2 separate regions of the Homo sapiens genome follow, and region 1 is linked to region 2. The links are contacts of gene promoters, found by promoter capture Hi-C in blood cells and fetal thymus (Javierre and others, 2016). All regions are on one chromosome and are shown on one strand. The core of a region is centred on a gene start or on the middle of the fragment in contact, and the rest is flanking DNA. Distances in the headings are between cores, read along the strand shown.

The links. Contacts are between HindIII fragments. The CHiCAGO score rates a contact against its expected background, and 5 or more counts as called.
Region 1: a contact is called between the fragment with the promoter of RPS3 here and the fragment with the promoter of MOGAT2 in region 2, in 2 of 17 cell types (erythroblasts and megakaryocytes). The highest score is 7.3, in erythroblasts.

Annotation. Positions count from the first base shown.
Region 1 is chr11:75,397,917-75,401,392 of GRCh38, forward strand. RPS3 (ribosomal protein S3) reads left to right here and starts at 1,602. Exons shown (of 7, transcript NM_001005.5): 1 at 1,602-1,661; 2 at 2,778-2,908. The coding sequence starts at 1,632. It overlaps SNORD15A (small nucleolar RNA, C/D box 15A), which reads left to right and starts at 2,475; the gene lies at 2,475-2,622. RefSeq lists enhancers at 1,579-1,938, 2,165-3,028. The HindIII fragment of the contact is 4,256 bases long and covers 77-3,476 here.
Region 2 is chr11:75,716,049-75,719,513 of GRCh38, forward strand. MOGAT2 (monoacylglycerol O-acyltransferase 2) reads left to right here and starts at 1,790. Exons shown (of 6, transcript NM_025098.4): 1 at 1,790-1,931. The coding sequence starts at 1,841. LOC105369392 (a long non-coding RNA gene) reads right to left here and starts at 2,237. Exons shown (of 3, transcript XR_950316.4): 1 at 2,158-2,237. The HindIII fragment of the contact is 5,505 bases long and covers 1-3,465 here.

The DNA of each region.
Region 1 (3,476 bases), core at 352-2,851, 320 kb before region 2:
ATTAATTGTAGCATCATTCTCAATTCCCCCTCAGCTTGGTGATGCATACACGTACAGTTTTTTCAACTGTTCTGTAAGCTTCATTAAAAAATGAAGGGACATTTTTAATTTTTTATTTTTTTTAGACTGAGTCTCACTCTGTTGCCCGGGCTGAGTGCAGTGGCACAATCACGGCTCACTGCAGCCTAGACCTCCTGTACTCAAGCAATCCTCTCACATCTCCCTCCAGAGTAGCTGGGACTACAGGCACACACCACCACACCTGGATAATTTTCTTTTTTCACTTTTCATAGAGATGAGGGTGTCTCATTCTGTTGCCCAGACTGGTCTCAAACTTCTGGCCTCAAGCTATCCACTTGCCTTGGCCTCCCAAAGTGCTAAGATTACAGGCCTGAGCCACTGCACCTGGCTAGAATTTTTTTTAATTGAAAAAGAAGGCCAGGCACGGTGGCTCATGCCTGTAATCCCAGCACTCTGGGAGGCTAAGGCAGGTGGATCACTTGAGGTCAGGAGTTCAAGACCAGCCTGGCCAACATAGTGAAACTTCATCTCTACTAAAAATACAAAAATTAGCTGGGTGTGGTGGTGTGCACCTGTAATCCCAGCTACTCAGGAGGCCAAGGCAGAAGAATCACTTGAACCTGGGAAGTGGAGGTTGCAGGGAGCTGAGATCGTACTACTGCACTCCAGCTTGGGCAACCGGAGAGAAAAGAAAGAAAGGAGAGAAAGAGAGAGAGAAAGAGAGAGGAAGGAAGGAAGGAAGGAAGGAAGGGCGGGCCCATGGGACCTTCTGGGACTTCTGTTACAAATTGTAATGGACTTGATGAAAGTAAGGTGGGGTAAATGAGAACAACATAAAGGACACAGAACGCAGTCCCTAGGACACTTAGTAAGTATCAGGTTTTATTATTATCATTTGGAATGGAGGAAATGGGTACAGACTGGGGGACATGAGTTGTTTTGTTTGTTTGTTTGTTTGTTTGTTTGAGACAGAGTCTCACTCTGTGGTCCAGGCTAGAGTGCAGTGGTAGGATCTTGGCCCACTGCAACCTCCATCTCCCAGGTCCAAGCAATCCTCCCACCTCAGCCTCCCGAGTAGCTGGGATTACAGGTGCCCGACACCACTCCCAGCTAATTTTTCTATTTTTAGTAGAGACGGGGTTTCACCATGTTCGCCAGGCTAATCTCGAACTCCTGACCTCAAGTAATCCGCCCGCCTTGGCCTCCCAAAGAGGAGTCTTAAATGAGTTTCACTGAGGGATTTCAGCAGATTTTCATTACAGTGTCCACCCTGAAAGTGTAGGGGCCAGAGTTCCACGCTGGTTAATCTCTCTTGCTGTGTGAACTTATACCTGTAATTTCCACCTCTGCACCTCACATTGCTTGTTTTGAAACTATGAGAATTGAACTCTAAGGTCCCCTGAAGTTTAGAAGTCCTGCTGGATGAAGCCCCTTTCCTGTTCCTGCCTACATTCTTCTTTCCCTGGACGCCTTACTTACGTAAAAACTACATTTCCCATGAGCACCCACAGGCGTGCACGCAGCGCAGCCCTCCGTCGTCGCTCGCGCCCTTTATACTCACTTCCGCCCGCGAGCCACTTCCTTTCCTTTCAGCGGAGCGCGGCGGCAAGATGGCAGTGCAAATATCCAAGAAGAGGAAGGTGAGCCTCTGGGGACTGGGTTCGGAGAACGACGGCGCCGCGCGGGTCGAGGGCTTCTCGGGGTGCCACCGCGAGGCCTGCAGCTCCGTGGCCTGCCCTGGAAGCGGCCTAGGCTTCCTGGCGTTCCTGCGGGCCGCGGATGGCGGTGGATTGAGTGAGAGGCCCCAGCCAGGAGGGCGCTGTGTGGCCGGGTTCCAAGTGAAGCGCAGAGAGATGGGCACCAGGCGCCCCTTCTGTCCCGGAGAAGGCGTTTGTGAGCATTTGTCGGTCAACGGAATTAGTAAACGTGGTATTTTGAGGGCGTGTGTCATTTCCCTCATGTCTTATCCCGTGGTTTTGGGAAGAGAAGGCAGCAGTGTATTCTTGCCTTAACTGGTCGTTTCTGGGTACAGTCCGCTGGCCCCAGGACCTCAACTTGAAGGGTTGCTGACGGTTGCTTGCTCCGTCTGGGGACCCCGGGAGGAAGCTGCCTCGGATTTAACGCCTTGTCATTACATGGGATAGAACTGTGTAAAAATCATTAGCTTTAAAAATAGACAGTTTGTCATTTCGTATATACACTTCGATGTCAAAATTAAATCCACAACTTCTCGAGAGTTAGGATTTGCCAGCTCTGTTGGTACCGTAAAGCCAAATAACATGGCTGGGATTCTTTAGACGGTGCAGGTTGTGTCTACAAGTGAGAGAGCTTATATGTTAAGTCTACTATCTATTCCTTAACAGTGACAAGTACAGTGTCTTTGCTGTGCTGAATGAAGTGTAAATAGGCCATTAGAGCAGTTTCTTGTTTTGCATGTGGAACTGTTTTAAACCCTTCGATGAAGAGATGATGACGAGTCTGACTTGGGGATGTTCTCTTTGCCCAGGTGGCCTACTCTGTGCTGCGTTCTGTGGCACAGTTTAAAGAGCCCTGGTTGAAGTAATTTCCTAAAGATGACTTAGAGGCATTTGTCTGAGAAGGGTTGCTGCACTCCTGTTGGAACAAGGGTTTGGAACCATTGGTTGGAGGTATTTAGTTTTGGTGAGGGATGCATTGACTAATAAGACTAGACTGGCTCAGGCGAAAGTGAGCCTACACCGATCTCCTAATTTTGAACTTTGCTTTGTTTGGATTAGTTTGTCGCTGATGGCATCTTCAAAGCTGAACTGAATGAGTTTCTTACTCGGGAGCTGGCTGAAGATGGCTACTCTGGAGTTGAGGTGCGAGTTACACCAACCAGGACAGAAATCATTATCTTAGCCACCAGGTAAAACTCATTTGACTGGCCATCACCTATAATTGTTATAAATGCTAAGTTGGTTTATTTATTTATTTATTTTTTTGAGACGGAGTCTTGCTCTGTCCCCAAAGCTGGAGTGCAGTGGCGCGATCTCGGCTCACTGCAAGCTCCGCCTCCCGGGTTCACGCCATTCTCCTGCGTCAGCCTCCCGAGTAGCTGGGACTATAGGCGCCCGCCACCATACCTTGCTAATTTTTTGTGTTTTTAGTAGAGTTGGGGTTTCACCGTGTTAGCCAGGACGGTCTGGATCTCCTGACCTCGTGATCCGCCTGCCTCAGCCTCCCAAAGTGCTGGGATTACAGGCGTGAGCCACCGCGCCCGGCAGGTTTATCCTTTATGAACTTAAGGGGACAGACGGAACAGTGAATCTGGGCTTAGTGAATGTAATTGCTTCTTAAAAGCTAGATTTTAAGGCCAGGCGTAGGATCACTTAAGCTCAGGAATTCAAGATCAGCCGGGGCAACATGGGGAAACCCCCGCTCTACAAAAAATAAAAAAGGGTGTGGTGGTGCATGCATGTGGTCCCACCTATTCC
Region 2 (3,465 bases), core at 540-3,039:
CAATGAAGGACCACTACACACCCACCAAAATTCAGAACTCGGAATTCTTATATAAGGCTATGGGAGTGTAGATTTGTACAACCACTTTGGAAAACTCTATGGCTATCTACCATGAGACCCATCAATTCTATTTCCAGGCACATACCCAACAGAAATGTGTATAGATGTGTACTGAAAGACATGTACAGGAATGTTCGTAGCAGCAATATTCATAATAGCCAGAAACAGGTGACAGCCCAAATGCCTGTCAGCGTCCAAATGGACACTTTGTGGCATATTCACACAATGGAATGCTATACAGCAATGAAAACAAAGGCAATACAGGCACATATGATGTCTCAAAAGAGTATACACTAAATGATTCAGTTTTCATAAAGTTCAAGAACAGAGATGAGGATGGTGCTGAGCTACAGGGAGGAGAGCAGTGACTGGCAAGGCCAGAAGGGGTGCTAGGTAAGTTCTGTTTGTCGATCAGAGTGGTGATAACTTTCACTTTGTGAAAAGACATTTCTCTGTCCGCTTAGGATTTGTGCATTTTTCCGTATGTATGGTATACGTCAATTTGAAGTTGACATTTAAAAGGAGGGACTTAGAAGAACTGATAGGACATGGTGACTGGTAGAGGTGGATGGAGAAGAACAGAAGGGATCTAGTGTGACTCAGGTTTTGGCCTGAGCAACTGGGTAAATGGCATTACCCTTTACTGAGATGGGAAAGAGCAGAGGAGGAGTCAGTGGGGCAGAAGGGAGGTGGGGGAGGGAATCAAGTTCACCTTTAGACATGCTACGATGGAGGTGCCTATCAGGCATTCAAGTGAAGATGTCAAGGAGCCACCTAGAGATTCAAGTTTAGAGCCCCAGGGAGCAGAGCTGCAGATGCAGATTTGGAAGTCTTTGCTGTGTAAATACAATGCAAGGTGTGAGCCTGGATGAGATCTCAGAGAGCAGAAACTGGAGAGAAAAGAGAAGTCCCGAGGATGGAGTGGAGGAGGGGGACTCGAACAGCTGGCCTGGTGAAAGACGAGAGGCACAAAGGGAGCAGCCAGAGAGCTAGGAAGAAAACTGGGAGAGCATAGTGTCCAAAGGCCAAGTGGTTTCAAAGAAACGGGAATGATCAACCATATCTAATGCTGCCAATAGGTCAGGATGAGATCTGAGAATTGATTACTGGATTTAACATCATGGAGGTCACTAGGGAACTTGCCAAGGGCAGTTTTGTGGAAGGGTGATACCTGAAGTGTGGACCACCATTTGTGGTACCACAGATGGGAGGTGAGGACAGGAAGGCATGAAAGATAGCTCTTCCGAGAGTTTGCTGTGTGAGTGAGCAGAAAAATGGGGCAGGAGGTGGAGGACACAGTGTGGGTGGGGATTTTTAGGTGGGAGTTAGTACAGCATATGTGTGGAGGGGGAACAATGGACAGGACAAGGTTATCCTATCCATTGACCTTGGGGCCAGGTCATTGAATAGGTGGGAAGGGGGTGAGATTGCATATGCTTGGGGCTTCACCTGCCTAGTTATAGGAAGGACAAGATTTAAGCAATTGGGGAAAGGCAGCCATGCAGATAAGGCATTGCCTGAGAAAGTTGATAAAGGCTATACAACCCCTTCTCTTCCTCCTTCCTTAGCCAGGCTCCAGCAGGTAGATTCAAAGGTTTCTTGTAGGATAGAATTTCCTGCCTCAGCAGGGGCAAGGAGGCCTTGGGGCTGGGCTGGGCTGGGCTGGGTGTGGCACTCTCCCTGCCAGCTTCTACAACCTGGGGAGGGAACAAAAACCTGTGGGTGCCTCAGACCACAGCAGAGCTCACAGAACCTGCGGGAGCCAGGCTGACCCGCCAGCATGGTAGAGTTCGCGCCCTTGTTTATGCCGTGGGAGCGCAGGCTGCAGACACTTGCTGTCCTACAGTTTGTCTTCTCCTTCTTGGCACTGGGTAAGTTGGGCTGCACTGTAAGACGGGAGACCACCGCACTCAGGTGGGGCAGAGCAGCCACACCAGGTGCACACAGCACATTGATGGTGGCAAGACATTTATCCTAAAGGGGGCTTTGTTGCGCTCAGAGCCCCTGCCCAGAGAGAACTCCTGGGCCTGCCCAGAGGCTTCTTGGGGGTGGAGTGGGGTAGAAGTCACCGTCTGCTGCTCTGGGCAGGTTACTTACTCTTCCTGGCTTGCACTGTGGGTTCTCCTTTGGCACTTGGATGAAGACCAGTCTGCAGGCTGCCAAGTGGTGTGGGAAAGCCTCTGGGCGATGACGGGAAAGTTCTGGGCTCTGCAGCCTGCTCAGAGAGGAGAGATTTCCTTCTGTGCGCTCAGGGAGGAGGAAACTGGGGCTGGTAGTAGGGTAAGTGAGAGAAACAGGGAAAGAAAAGAAGGGTGGGGAGAAGGTGCAGACTGAGAGTGGACTGTGGAGTGGGCATGCTGGGTACCAGGAAACCCGGAGTCAGACTCAGCTGGGCAACTGACTTTAGCCAGCCCATGCCTGACCTCTCCAAGCCTCGACTTCACCATCTGCAGAACGGGGACAACAATGCTGGCCTTGCAGGGCTATTGTGAAGGAAATGAAGAAATGTGCTGACCTCTGCTTGGCACAGACCTGGCCTGGACCCTGGGCTGGGCTCACACTGGAGGGCATGAGCATGGCCCCTTACCCACCCCACCACTGATTTGTGGCCAGAGAGATCACCCTTGCCCAAACAATAGCTCTGCCAAAGGTAACATTTTCTAGGAGGGTCTGGATCTGTGGCTTGGGAAGGGAGAATGACTAGGAGTCCGTGGGGTTTTTCCTTTCATCTGCTGGCACCAGACAAGGTAGGAACTGCTGCTTCCAGGGCTGAGGTTCAGCCTGTACACAGATACCACTCTCCTGGTTGTTAAAATATTGACACACTCTGAACACATTGCTCAGTAGCCATCTCTCTTTCTCTCTCTCTCTCTCACACACACACACACACACACGTACTTCCTCAGAAACTCCCCCACAATTCTGTAGTGAAAAAACTCCCCCTTGGCAAAGCAGGCCCTCCAGGACCCTGCCCTAGCATCCCTTCTGGTTGAGCTGTGTCTCTGTTCTAAGGGTTTTTAGACATTTTACACATTCCTGTATACCCCCTTTGCACAGATGAGCCAAACAATCAAGGATTTGCCTCCAGTAAGGGCTGAGAAACCATCAGTCAGAGGGGAATTCCACACTAGGCCTGGTCTTAGCCCTGATGCACCCCTGATTATGGGGCGGCCAGGGGCTGGCCTCTTCCTCCCTCCCTCCTTTCAACAACAAACGTCACTGGTCACTGAAGGCAAAGGAATCAGAGCTCAGCAGGTTTGGGAACACTGTGTAGTTCAGAGTGGCCACAGACAAGAGGCAGGAGCGGGAGGGACAGGGCCAGCTCTGGGGCTCCTGGAGGCCAGGCTGAGCTACTTGGACTGTGCCCAAAGTTATGGGGAAGTCATGAAGGGCTTGAATAAGGGG